4 separate regions of the Homo sapiens genome follow, and all the other regions are linked to region 1. The links are contacts of gene promoters, found by promoter capture Hi-C in blood cells and fetal thymus (Javierre and others, 2016). All regions are on one chromosome and are shown on one strand. The core of a region is centred on a gene start or on the middle of the fragment in contact, and the rest is flanking DNA. Distances in the headings are between cores, read along the strand shown. Region 1 holds the start of MOB1B (MOB kinase activator 1B). Region 2 overlaps LOC124900712 (a long non-coding RNA gene). Region 3 overlaps AMBN (ameloblastin). Region 4 overlaps ENAM (enamelin).

Evidence for each region. The method cuts DNA at HindIII sites, captures the fragments that hold promoters and counts their contacts. A CHiCAGO score of 5 or more calls a contact.
Region 2: a contact is called between a fragment that was not itself captured here and the fragment with the promoter of MOB1B in region 1, in 1 of 17 cell types (fetal thymus). The highest score is 6.6, in fetal thymus.
Region 3: a contact is called between a fragment that was not itself captured here and the fragment with the promoter of MOB1B in region 1, in 3 of 17 cell types (fetal thymus, total B cells and naive B cells). The highest score is 7.2, in fetal thymus.
Region 4: a fragment that was not itself captured here is called in contact with the fragment with the promoter of MOB1B in region 1 in 1 of 17 cell types (total B cells); the score reaches 5.2 in total B cells.

Annotation. Positions count from the first base shown.
Region 1 is chr4:70,900,208-70,903,784 of GRCh38, reverse strand. It overlaps MOB1B (MOB kinase activator 1B), which reads right to left and starts at 1,416. Exons shown (of 6, transcript NM_173468.4): 1 at 1,235-1,416. The coding sequence starts at 1,248. It overlaps LOC124900711 (a long non-coding RNA gene), which reads left to right and starts at 1,554. Exons shown (of 2, transcript XR_007058132.1): 1 at 1,554-1,836. RefSeq lists silencers at 1,087-1,136, 1,447-1,596. The HindIII fragment of the contact is 2,463 bases long and covers 1-1,915 here.
Region 2 is chr4:71,181,139-71,184,353 of GRCh38, reverse strand. It overlaps LOC124900712 (a long non-coding RNA gene), which reads left to right. Exons shown (of 2, transcript XR_007058133.1): 2 at 1-666. It also overlaps a transcript of SLC4A4 not described here. Among named protein-coding and RNA genes, the nearest start is that of SLC4A4, 4.5 kb to the left of the region's middle. The HindIII fragment of the contact is 2,961 bases long and covers 1-2,745 here.
Region 3 is chr4:70,603,672-70,606,839 of GRCh38, reverse strand. AMBN (ameloblastin) reads right to left here. Exons shown (of 13, transcript NM_016519.6): 12 at 2,919-2,963; 13 at 1-655. The coding sequence ends at 110. Among named protein-coding and RNA genes, the nearest start is that of AMBN, 13 kb to the right of the region's middle. The HindIII fragment of the contact is 2,710 bases long and covers 75-2,784 here.
Region 4 is chr4:70,639,352-70,642,890 of GRCh38, reverse strand. ENAM (enamelin) reads right to left here. Exons shown (of 9, transcript NM_031889.3): 9 at 1-876. Among named protein-coding and RNA genes, the nearest start is that of ENAM, 12 kb to the right of the region's middle. The HindIII fragment of the contact is 3,274 bases long and covers 323-3,539 here.

The DNA.
Region 1 (3,577 bases), core at 167-2,666:
GGTCAGCCTTGTTCAGTTTTGCTTAAACACCCTAAAAAAAAAAATTCTAGATGTGAGCATGTGAAAATAAGAGTGAATTAAATTCTCAGTATTCAGACGTCAATGTAATGACTAAAAATTATTAGGCAAGGAAAGAAGAGAAATCTTAAGAAAATATCCTTTAAATGCTAATTTCTCCACAACAGTAAAACAGTATATGGGTGAGTTTCAACTTCTAAGTTTTTTATTAGTTTTCTAAACACAGACTAAACATGGAATGAGTGCATCACAACGAAGCCTTCAAAGGAGTTATTCCTCAGGCTGTAACCCCTGTTTTCAGAGGACCTGAGGCTTATCTACTGCCTCCATATCCACATCTGGCCATCCCATCCTTCTGCCCTTCCCCCTCCACGTTCCCCTCCACTCGTCTGGAACAAACGATAAGTAAGTGAAATAATGACCAGCACTAAACATGACGCCAAAGTTGGCATTTACAAATGATTTTCAAAACAACTCCCCAGTGGACCTAATCAACCTAGGCAGGGCACACTATCCAAAACCTATTTGCTGGTTGTCTAAAAAGATAAAACTCATCCTCTTCAGGGAAGTCCTCTGGGAGGAAGGGCGCCTCTAGGAAGCAAGGGGGCGGCTCCAGACCCCTTTCTCAGGGACCCCCGTCTGTGTCCAAGGGATCCCGACCCGCAAGTAGCCTTGTTTCAGTGTTACATCTACAGAACTTGTCATCCCAACTTCCCAGCCCTAAGACGAGAGAGGAAGTTAAAAGGGTCCTGGGATGACAGGGGAAAGTACGACAGTCTTATCTTCTGTGCTTGGGACCCAGAAAAGAGCAATGGGCAGCCGCGACGGAGCCATTCAACCGAGCACCGCTTGGATACGGATTGTGCAGGCGAGTGGGAGATACCCACGAGAAGCGCACAAACAAGCCCGGGAATGCGAGCGAAGGCAGAGACGGGGGTGATGAAGGAATCCAGGCGCTGGCCCCGGGGTGTGCCGGGGGGGAAGAACCTCCTCAGGGCTGCAGGAGCCCACGAGTACTCGAAGCCCTATGGGGAGGCGGCGGTTAGGTAGTCCGAGCGCTCCGCGCAGTCCCGGGGCCCCGCTTGGTGGTGACGCCGGGCCCCGGGAGCGCTGGGCCAGGAGGGTCGGGACGAGGGCGGGCGACGGGCGGCGGGCGGCGGGCGGGGGCCCAGGTCCACCCGAACAAAGCCGGCGCGTGCGGGGCCTGGCTACTCACAACAAGAAGCTCATGTTGGCCGCGGGGCAGGCTGCAGGCTCGGCGGTCGCGAGGCCTCGGAGCGGCGTGGGCCAGGAAAGAAGAGGAAAGGCGAATGGAACAGGAGACAGGGAGGCGGAGGAGGAGGTGCCGAGAGCCGGCTGCTCGGTGGCCGCAACTAGTTCGGCTCAGCTAGTTCCAATGGCAGGGGGAGGGGGCGGAAGTGGGTAGCGCTCGTCTTGAATCACTCCAGGGGAGGGGAAGGAAAGGGAGGCGGGGCAGGCTCTCCGCGAGCCCCTCCCCAGCTCCCCGCCGCCCCCACCTCACGAGCTCTCGCGATAGCGGTGCAAGCCCACCCCGGCCCTCCGGCTGCGGCATGGGGACTCTCACCTTCTGGTCTCCTCTGCTGCTAGGGACGACGCCCAGCGTGTGCGCCGCGGCTGCCCGGCCCCCCTGTCCACCCGGTTAGGAGTCATGGCAGAGCTCTCGGAGCCGCTCAGCTGGGCTCCAGAGGTCAGGGAGGAAGTGGGCTTCAGCTCGGGGATGTCAAGGTCCCGCAGTGAGGGATGGAATTACCACCGGAGTTAGGCCCACCGTGAGTGTCCGGCCAAGGGCGGTGAAAGGTAATGGCATCTCTCAGTTCACCACGGAACCCAGCATGATAGGGTGGTCATCGGTGTAACCACTTAGGGGGCCAAAGCTTGTAAGCATTCTAATGCACAGAACATCCTAGAAGCTAGAAGCTATTCAGACCCACTTACAAAGGGACTTTTATTCTCACAGGGTTATGGGGCCCAGGGCAAGCCTTTATATTCTGTTTAAGAATCCTTCACATACCTTGAATATGTCACCACAGCATTACCAATTTAGGAGGGAAATACGGGTATCGAAGAGATGTCCGTCTTCTTTACTCACAACACCCATCAAATCTACAAGTTTTCAAAGAGAATCTGAGCAAAACAAATCATGTGCAGATATTAGCTCACCTTTGGCTTATCCCAAAGGGCAGAATACACTTTGAAGTAGGTGCAGATATGAAATGTATTATACTGCATATATGCACTATTATTTGGCACGTTGGTAAAGTGGTAAAAAAAAAAAAAAAAAAAAAAAAAAAAAAAAAAAAAAACGTTTTAGGCCGGGCGCAGTGGCTCATGCCTGTAATCCCAGCACTCTGGGAGGCCGAGGTGGGTGGATCACCTGAGGTCAGGAGTTCAAGACCAGCCAAAGTTCAAGACCATGGCCAAACCCCGTCTCTACTAAAAATACAAAAATTAGCCGGGCATGGTGGCACACACTTGTAATCCCAGCTACTCGGGAGGCTGAGGCAGGAGAATTGCTCCAACCCAGGAAGCAGAGGTTGCAGTGAGCCAAGATCATGCCACTACACTCCAGCCTGGGTGACAGAGTTAGACTCCGTCTCAAAAAAAAAATTTTTTAATAGAAGAAAATACTAGAATCTTGCACTATCTCAGGAACAGCAGAGGTTACTGGAATGAGAAAACTTACAGACTCAAAAGATTACCAGATCAGGATAAATAGCTAATGCATGCAGAGCTTAATACCTAGGTGATAAGTTGATAGGTTCAGCACACCACCATGGCACACACGTTTACCTATGTAACAAACCTGCACGTCCTGCACATGTATCCTGGAACTTCAAATTAAATTAAAAATTTTTTAAAAGATTCCCCAAAAAGAAGAAAGAGGAGGATTTATCTGAATGAAAATAATAGATTTATGGTATAAAACCCTGTGCTCCAAATATTGATATGGTACTGACTTACTGTATAATTCTTTTTTTTTTTTTTTTTTTTGAGACGGAGTCTCACTCTGTCACCCAGGCTGGAGTCCAGTGGTGCAACTTCTGGACTAGGCTCACTGCAACTTCTGCCTCCTGGGTTCAAACAATTCTGCCTCAGCCTCCTAAGTAGCTGGGATTACAGGCCTGTGCCACCACACCTGGCTAATTTTTGAATTTTTAGTAGAGACGGGGTTTTACTATGTTGGCCAGGCTGGTCTCAAACTCCTGACCTCGTGATCTGCCTGCCTTGGCCTCCCAATATGCTGGAATTACAGGCGTGAGCCACCACGCCCAGCCCTGTATGATTCTTGTAAGGGTCTTCTGAAAGTAAGACTTGCATTACCAGATTACTGATTATCTTTGGAAAGAGTGAGTTGACCTGTCATAGCCTCAGTTTTAGCCCATTTAAAATGGGAGCCTTCTATCATTACATGATCTCTAAAATATCTTCCAGTTCTAAAGTTCTCTCCTGCCAGGGGCATCCTTCAAATGACTGGCACACATTTCCAAACTGCTCCCTGATTTGGCTTAGGTAGCCTTAGTTTTGGTCTGACATAATT
Region 2 (3,215 bases), core at 16-2,515, 280 kb before region 1:
GAAGAATGAAGATGAAAGTTTTCGAATAGGTAGTCCAGGCATTTCTGGTCGCTTATAGGCATGACATTCTTTGATTCTAAAACAAGAAGTTGTATGTAGTAGAATAATGCAATTGATCGGCCCTGCGTTGATTATTGAAAGTAAGGTGCCGATGTGACCTGCAGATAGGATTATTAGCATAGAATTTTCTCAGTATTTGTGTGACTGACTAGGTCCTTAAAGACTCTGTATTTAAGTTTCCTCATTACATAAAATAGGAAGAGTGATGGCTTGTCACCATATGTTGTCTGTAAAGCACTGTGTTCAACAAAGAGCAGAATCCATAAATATAACTATTATATTTGGATTTTTTCACTATTGGGAAAAAAGGTGAAAAATATTGTTGGATGTTTCTCCTGGAGTTATACAAAATTATAACATTCATAGGCATTTCATATTGGGGCCTAAACAGAAAGGTGGTAGGAGATAACATTATAGCTTGTTACTATAAACGTCAAAGACTGATCAGAGATGTTTGTCAATATCAAGTCCTTTTTAAATAGGTGGTTCATTGGCGAAAGTCTGACCAACATGTTGCTACACAGAATAGAGATTTTCTTTGTGCTGATATTTGTTTGGACTTGTAGTTGTTTGCAACAGAATGATCATTAAAGTTGTCACTCTGTATCAATTTTGTTAACCACTTCATTGTGTAAGAGTAAGAAATGAGAAAAAGCAACTTTTGTTCTTCTCATTCTAAAACCAATCTGGGATGAAAGATAGATAGATATAGATCGATAGATAATAGGTCACCAAAGGCCTCATTTTTGTTTCACTTACACTCCAAGAGTATTCATATTCAGTCTGGCAAATTCTTGAATACATTCAACTAATCTAGATTTATAATTAACATTCTCTTCCTCAAACCCCAGGTTTAAAAATACCTGTAGCCCCTTTTTATGAGGAGAGAATGAAGGTGAACACAGTTTTTGGAAGCTGTCAGCACAGCATGAGCTGGGGAAAATAATTTTATTTGGTTAAACGTGTGTCCCAAGTTGCTTCACAGCTTTAGCAACTGAGCTCTCAACCATATCCAACTGTCGTTTTTAAAACACATGCCTAAAGTCAACTATCAGTAGAGGGTTCTAACTTCTGAAAACAGGAGCTTATCTCAGTTAATGTCAAGGAAGGCAGGTTATTCAATCTGAGTCTCAGTTCCCACAGCATTAAAATCAAGGAGCTTAAGATAATACCCCAAAATTCAGCAATTCCAACAGGATACCAGAATGATTTCCTCTAATAAAATTGAACAATATGTGATAGAGAAATATGCAAATCTTTCAGAAATGGTATCAACATATTTATTACGAAAGCTCTGTTTAATAACCTTAGGCCAATGTTTCAGCCCCTTCCTCCTGCAGGAATTCTCCCATAGATCAGCATAACACAGGACACAGACCTCTCTGTTTGGAAGGAGAAGGAAAACTTAAAATGAGCTACTAAGCCACTAAAACCCAGGCCCCTGATTTAAAAGATTGGTCTGGTTTTAGGTACGGTGGTAGAGAATTATGTTAGACTTCTCTATCAGAACAGACTCTTGGGGCCCTTGGACTCTCATAATGTGAGAGAGAGTGTGTGTGTGTGTGTGTGTGTGTGTGTGAAATGTACATACACGTGATCAGACTAGCAACTTCCCAGACACAGAAAGGTGTTTTTTCCTTTGTATCCCACTGGCTTCCTGCCTCCTTGGGAATTGAATGGGCCTACATAGCAGGCCACTTAAAAGCTGTTCCTCCTTTTTGGCCTATGGACCAAGTCATGCGGATTCAGCTGTTCCATTGCTTGGAGACAGGTTTCCCTATGGACTAACCGACCACCAGATCCAACTGGCCTATTACCGTTCACATCCCACTGGTCTGCTCTTTAGACCAGGCCTATCTTGGAGACCACAGCACCTCAGTCTCCTTGCAAGTAACAAAACAGTTGATGTTGCTAGTACCCATCTACCAGACTCATGTCTTCACGGAAAACACTGCAAATCAAAATCTGAATATTAAACGTTGGCTCCTTTTTCCCCTCTGCTTAGGGAAAGAGCACTCTGAGCAAATGTGCCTTCATGGCATTTCAATTTACCAGTGCCAACCAAAGGATGCTCAGTTCTACCACAGAATATGGGGCATGGTTGGGTCATCCATTCAGTCAACCAATATTTATTAAGAACCTACTTATTTTGTGTCAAGAACTCTTCTGGGTGATGGATTCCTAGAACAAGAAAAGTTCCTGCTTCATGGAACTTACAAGTAAACAAATAAGTGGACAAAATAATGTCCATTATCTTGGAATGCTAAATGCAATGAAGTGATAAATGCTATGAAGAGGGTGTCCAACTATCCCAGGTCACATTGCCAATTTACACCTGTTATCCTTCTGTAATGATAACAGCACTCCCTTTCACCTCAAAAGGAAGACATAGTGAGAAATTGTAGAATCCCCTTAGCCCTAGAAGAAATAAAGCACAGAGATGTGATAGAGTTGACAGGGCAAGGGACAGCTGCTTTCAAGTGGGGGGGTCAAGGAAGGTCTTTCTGAGATAGGAATGTTCGAGGACAAATCTGAATCAACAAGACATAAATATGAAAAATTGTAAAGGCAACTTGACAGTACAAATAGCATCTGGCATGGTGCCTTACACACAGTAGGAACTCAGTAATTATAGAATGATTGATGGCATTCCTTCTTTTTTGGAACATTAAAAATAGAGAAGCTTACTTACCCAGGATATATTTCTATTAAGACAGATTTCAGGCTTCACAAATTCCTTATGACATCATTCTTCTTACACAATAACATTGGGACTCTATCTGTGTATTTATTTGCATGTGCATAAAGCATCTCGTGAAGGATACATGAGCAATTAAAAGCACTATTTGCTTCCAGGAAGGGGAACTAGAGCAGGCATAGGGAGGAAGACTTATCACTGAATCATTCATACTTTACAAATTATTTTTTATTATACTTTAAGTTTTAGGGTACATGTGCACAATGTGCAGGTTAGTTACATCTGTATACATGTGCCATGTTGGTGTGCTGCACTCGGTAACTCATCATTTAACATTAGATATATCTCCTAATGCTATCCCTCCCCCCTCCCCCCACCCCACAACAGGCCCTGGTGTGTGATGTTCCCCTTCCTGTGTCCATGTGTTCTCATTGTTCAATTCCCACCTATGAGTGAG
Region 3 (3,168 bases), core at 180-2,679, 300 kb after region 1:
TTAATGCCTTTGCTGCAGAAGGGTAATAAGTGTTTTAGCAAAAAGGTACACTGTGGGGACAAAGCTGGGAAGCTTGTGCATACAGAAAGTAGCTAATATCTTAGAGCTGTCAGGGCTCTTGGAAATGCCATGCGTCATGCATCATCTCGGGCTCCTGGGCTTTGTTTCCTGGCATGGATGTTTGCAGAGAGTTTGGGGCCATCGTGGTATCCATGGTTGCTTCTTCCTGGAAATCCACGGATGTGGTCATGTCAGCATCGTAGGTCCTATAAACATCAGCTAATTCAGGGGTCATCAGTGGGTCAGCAGCTGCTGGGGTGACGCTGGGGAGTCCCTTCATCTTCCCTGAAGGGCTCCTTGGCAGGCCGGGAATGTCATCCTTAGGGAGAGCAAGGAGCCCTGCGTGGGGAGCAGGTTCTAGCTCTGTAAGGAAAGCTGGGTTTTCTAGATTGTCTGGGTTGGCCTCCGGCATAGGGGAGCCTTGTGCACCTCCTTCTTCGTTCTCAGGGCCTTTGGTGGCAGCCACTGGGGAGTCAAATTCCAGAGTGAAGTCACCGCCCATAGCTGGGTTGTGGGGCATTCCCTCAAAGCCGGGCCTCATGCCTCCAAATCCTGGAAACATGGCTCCATAGGCCATTGGGTCTTCTCTCCCGCCCTGGAAAAAAAAACATTCGTCAAAGATGCCATCATCACATGCTATTAACTATACCATGCAGCTATACCTGGTCACATTCACCAAGGATCTCTAAAAAACTGGTGGAGAATAGGAAGTTGGCTGATTGATAGCTTTGTGTAAGCTCATTTCTCACTAAACTGGCTTTGAAACATAATGAAGAGGATTCTGCACTTATCTGGGTGGATCTCGGCATGATTTCCGTAAAAGGGAGATAACAGGGCAGAAGCAAGACTTGAGGCAAAGGTGAGTTTGAATTTAATTTTAAGAAAACAAGCAGTTGAAATGAGTACTACCATCACAAAACAAATAAGAACTGAAATTCATAACTGCATTTGTTGAGCGAGAATCTTGTCAATGGCATTTTTCAGTGTCCCCCAAATGAAGTTCCATGTACTTTTTTTTTCTTTTAGGGGTCTCATTATACGGCCCAGGCTGCTGGTCTAGAACTCCTAGGCTCAAGTGATCTTCTTGCCTCAGCCTCCCTAGTAGCTGGGATCACAGGGGTGAGACACTGCACCCAGCTAAGACTTTAATTTTTTTAAAGCACAAAGTTTAAGAAAAAAAATGTGACTTCCCTGGAGTAACTAAAATATTTTCTTCTTGTGGACAAATAGAATACCAGCACTGACCATGTTTCTTTTTCTACCTTTGCTGCCAGAAATATGGGGTCCAAAATCTTAGGCTGTTTGTAGCAATTGAGCAGGCCTGTGTGACTTGCATATCTGTATTCTGATTTTCTTGAAATTATGACTCATTTTAAATCCTACTTTCAATTTTTTGTTATATTTATTGTGTGTTTTTCATAAGCTCTACAAAATCTTTTGGGAATGAGGCAGAATAGAAATAATTAATACTATGTGATGGCAATTAACACTTACTTGAATTTTGAACTTCCAGCCACTTGTATTGGTGCTATATAGATACAATACTCTTTCCTTCTCCTTTCTCCTGACTCTTCATTCTCTCTCAGCTTTCACATCATCTCCTCCAGGGATGATACTGTGAATCCCTGGACTGGGCTAACTGCCCTTCCTCTCTGACTCTTTCTCTCTAATAAAATTGTTATTACTTTTAGCCCATGATTTTGACATTAGGTATCTGCCCTTGTACCTATCTTTTCCATTCATTAGACTGTAAGTTCCTTGAAAACAAGACTTTTTTTTTTTTTTTTAAGGCAGGGTCTTGCTCTGTTGCCCAGGCTGGAGTGCAGTGGCGTGATCTCAGCTCGTTGAAACCTCTGCCTCCCAGTTTCGAGTGATTCTCCTGCCTCAGCCTCCTGAGTAGCTGCGACTACAGGCTCGCGCCACTAAACCTGGCTGATTTTTGTATTTTTAGTGGAGACGGGGTTTTACCATGTTGGCCAGGCTGGTCTCAAACTCCTGATCTCGGGTGATCCATCCGCTTCAGCCTCCCAAAGTGCTGGGATTATAGGCATGAGCCACTGCGCCCAGCCAAAAACGAAAATCTTACCTTGTCTTGTTTACAGTATTTTCCTATGTGTGTGGCACATGGAAGGCACACAAAAATACTGAGATGTAATTTTTCTTTCACAGATAATATGTGTGTGTGTTTGTTAACTTGACAGGATCTGTAGTTGACAGTGATTTGTTAATTCAATATAGCTTTTGTTTTGTCTTGCCTTGTGCTCTAACAGATGTAACAGGCAAAAATTTTCTTAGGGAAAAAGTCAAGTTGTATGACTTTATTGATCTCAAATCTTAAACTTGCATGGATAATGATAACATAATAAGAGTATATGCTCATTGACAATGCACATTGACATTTATAATAATCACATTTTAAACTTGGTTTTCTTTTGCTTTTTGATCTTTCAATTTTGAGATCTGAATTACTTGTAATGCTGTTGAATTTGATGTTTTGAGGGGTTAAATGGTCCCAGAAAGAACAAGAACTCTGTATGAACCACGTGTATCCTTTTGGTTTGAAGTGTTTATAGTTCAATGACGGCCTTTCAAGGGGAGTTTTCTCCTCTGTTCATCTACAAGCAATGGGGCAAAACTCTATGCTCAAGAATAGTCATCACCCAGAAATGAAAGATTACATAGGAAACATGATGAAATCTTTGGATATTGCTTCAGAATTAAGCTTAGTTTTTGGAGTGGAAAAATCTGAGTCCCATGCTCATTTGGCTACATTCATGGCAGACGTCTCTTGCAGCCAGTCATAAGTGACTGTTCTTCCCTGGCCACTATTTTAAGAAGAGTTAGAAGACATTACTCACTGCCACTTCTTCTGAACTCATGATGCCAAGTCTGGCAGGGGCATTCTGTTCAAAAAGAAATATTGCGTCAAATTACGAACCAGCTACCTTCTTATCTACTCAAGACAAAGTTAAAAGTTATTTAGTTTTCACTTAAACCTTAATATTAATGCTGTGTACAGAGGCAAAGTGGAGAGGTGAGTCATTATGGAATAAATGTAGTCAACTCGGATAATTCAGATCTAAAATTTGTTTTTTCTTTAATACCCTT
Region 4 (3,539 bases), core at 710-3,209, 260 kb after region 1:
AACAGAATTAAAATTTGGGACTGGCATATAACCCTCAGAGTGAGGCAGTTTATAATTTGATTTATTAACTTCATACTGTTGAGAGTTTCTCCAGGGGCTGGTTGGATTCTTTGTAGGAACTATTATTTGTTCTTTTGGACCCAGGGGCTTCTCCTTTGGATTTTGGATTTTTTCATTGCGAACAACAGGGCCAGGTTTGGGACCCAGTGGGGCAACAGTAGTTCCTACAGGGTGTTTATTTGGCCCCTGAGGCTTTCTTCTGAGATTTGCTGGATTTCCTGCATAATTGGGATAATTGCCTCTTGAAGTAGGAGGGTAAGCTTTGTGATAAACTGGATTTCCTGGACGAGCTACTTGTTTACGTTCCCAAGCAAAGAAGTTCCACCGAGGACCCCTTTGAACTTGTTGATTTCTGTAAAAAGGCCTATTCTGTCTGTGCCCCATGACAGTACCAGTGAAATACCACTGTCTTCCTGAAGGAAAATTTCTTATATTAGGATATGGATGATTTTCACGAATATTTGGCTGACTTGGTCTCCATGGGATTTGACTTCCTGGCCCTCCCTGGCCTGAAGCGTTGACTGCAGGGAGTGGGCCAATCCCATTTTGAGCTGGAGGGTTGTTCCCAGTGTTTAGTCCTGGGGTACTGTTTCCTGTGGGGCTGGTGTCATTTCCTCCCTGACTCCCTTTAGGATTTGGTTGGGTAGAATTCGTCTCAGTGACTGTTGAATTAGCTGTGGGTTCTGTGCCTGGACTTTCTGCTTTAGGAGGATCTTCTTCTTTGGGTTTTTCAAAATCTTGTTCAAACATTTCTTCTGAATAATAAGGAGGGCGACCCCCAAAGCCATGATATCCAAAATATCCAAAGTAAGGATTCTGTAGGAAAGAAAATGGAAATCAATAATTGCCCTTTGTTTCCCACCATGGTGTTGTTTGGAATTTTTTAGTATAACAGGGAAATCTTATCAGCCACATGATTCTTTTAACATCATTAGCTTTACTTTCTTTCTTGAAATTTGATTCTTCCTTGGTTTCCATGACCATACTCTTTCTGGTTCTCTCTCCTGGTATTTTTTTCTGACCACTGCTCAGCTTTCTCTTTTTAGGCCTTATACATCTGAGGGTTTTTGTTTGTTTTTCTGTTTTGTTTTTAATGATTTCATCCTCCATCCTCCTAATTTTTCTGTTCTGTTTTTACATACCTCTTTTAAGAATTCTATTGCACCTGTAATCCCAGCACTTTTGGAGGCCGAGACAGGTGGATCACGAGGTCAGGAGTTCGAGACAATCCTGGCCAACATGGTGAAACCCCGTCTTTACTAAAAATACAAAAATTAGCTGGGCATGGTGGTGCACGCACCTGTAGTCCCAGTTACTCAGGAGGCTGAGGCAGGAGAATCGCCTGAACCCAGGAGGTGGAGGTTGCAATGAGCCCAGATCGTGTCACTGCATTCCAGCCTGGCAACAGCGAGACTCCATCTCAAAAAAAAAAATAAATAAATAAATAAAATAAAAAAAAATAAAAGAAAGAAAGAAAGAAAAAAGAATTCTATTGCATCAGCCCATGCTTTTAATAGGCATAGACTGCTAACAACTCCCAAAGGCATAATTCTAACCCACAACACTCTCACCCAAGGTTGAGGCAGCAAAACATCTCCACTAAAGATTTCATGAGTACCTCCAACTGAATGCACCCAGAACTGGGCTCATCTCCCGTGAAATCTCCTCCTCCGATGTTCTATATTTAAGCAACATTCACCACTATCTGTACAGTTTCTTAAGTTTCTGCTCTCTCTTAGTACTTCAGACTATTAATAATCAGGTCCTATAAAATCTAAACTTTCATCCTTGTTCCCACTTCCTTAATCCACAGTACCCCTGAACTGTTACAGTAGTTTTCTTACTGGCTACTCTGGATACAGTCTTACTTTCCTTTAATCTTGCTTCTGCACTGCCGTCAGAGTATTAGAGGCTGAGAGTGGGTATATGGAAATTTGGCCCCTTTCCTCTTTAAATTTGTATTTAAAGTTCTCCTTTACAAAATAAACTCTAAATCCCTTAACATAACATCAAAGCAGTACAACATGCTGCTAAACAGTGGGGCTCTAGACAGATGTGCATTAAAATCCCCGTTCCACCAGTATTAGTACTATGACTCTGGGCCAACCTTGGTTTATTCATTTGTAATATGGAGATGATAATAAAATAACGTCTACCTCATAGGTTGTCATGAGGGCCAAATGAGACAAAATAAGTACAGCTCAGTGCCTGGTACTTAGTAAGTGCCTAATAAGTGTTATATATTATATAATAATAATACAATTTTTAATAATAATCTGGGCTATAACTATTACATTCAGCCTCATTTCCTCCCCCTTGCACTTTATGCAGTTGCAAATCACAACTACGTTGAATTCTCTGGGTTCTCTATTCTTTTTATGTTTCAGTGCCTTTGCACACGGCTTATTCATATTGAAACTTCTTCCATTGACACATTTATTCCTCCTGGCAAATTTGACTCATCCTTCAGAGCTCAGTTTGACTTCTACCTTCTGTGTCTTGACTTCCATGGGCAGAATTAGGTCCTATTCCTAGGAGTCCACAGCAGTACAGATTTCTGTCATCACAATTATCCCACTGAATTTCAGTTTCCTATTTTCCTGGGATTCTTCCATTTAATTCTCCCATGTGAAGGTTTTGAATGAAAACATTATGCTTCTCATCCTTGTTTTCCAGTACCGAGGAGAGTGGGATGTTCTTAATAAATTTTCATTTAATGAATGATTTAATCATCACGAACTCAGTCAGTATGTTTGTTAGACATTTGTGTGGCATTTAGATCATTTGATTTTTCTTTTTAAAACAAATGCAATATAAAGAAAAGTATTTTAATCCCCATTTGTGGATGGAGATGAGAAAGACAGGCAAGGAAATATCTCCCAAGATCATGCAGGAAATCAGGTAGTGCCCTCAAGAGGTAGAATACAGACATCTTAGTTTTTGAGACAGGGTTTTTCTTTGTTGCCCAGGCTGGAGTGCAGTGGCAAGATCAGGGTTCCCTGCAGCCTTGAATTCCCAGGCTAAAGTGATCCTCCCACTTCAGCCTCCTGGGTAGCTGGGACCACAGGCACGTGACACCACGTTCACCTAACATTTATTTTATTCTCCCTATGTTGCCCAGGCTGGTCTTGAAATCCTGGGCTTAAGTGATCCTCCTGTCTCAGCCTCCCAAAGTGTTGGGATTACAGGTGTGAGCCATTGTGCCTATCTAAATTCAGATTTCTTTCCTTTTTTGTTTTTTGAGACTGAGTCTCGCTCTGTCGCCTAGACTAGAGTGCAATGATGTGATCTCAGCTCACTGCAACCTTCCCCTCCTGGGTTCAAGCGATTCTTCTGCCTCAGGCTCCACAGTAGCTGGGATTACAGGCCAGCACCACCATACCCGGCTAATTTTTGTATTCTTAGTAGAGACGGGATTTCACCACCTTGGCCAGGCTGGTCTCAAACTCCTTACCTCAAGTGATCCACCTGCCTCAGCC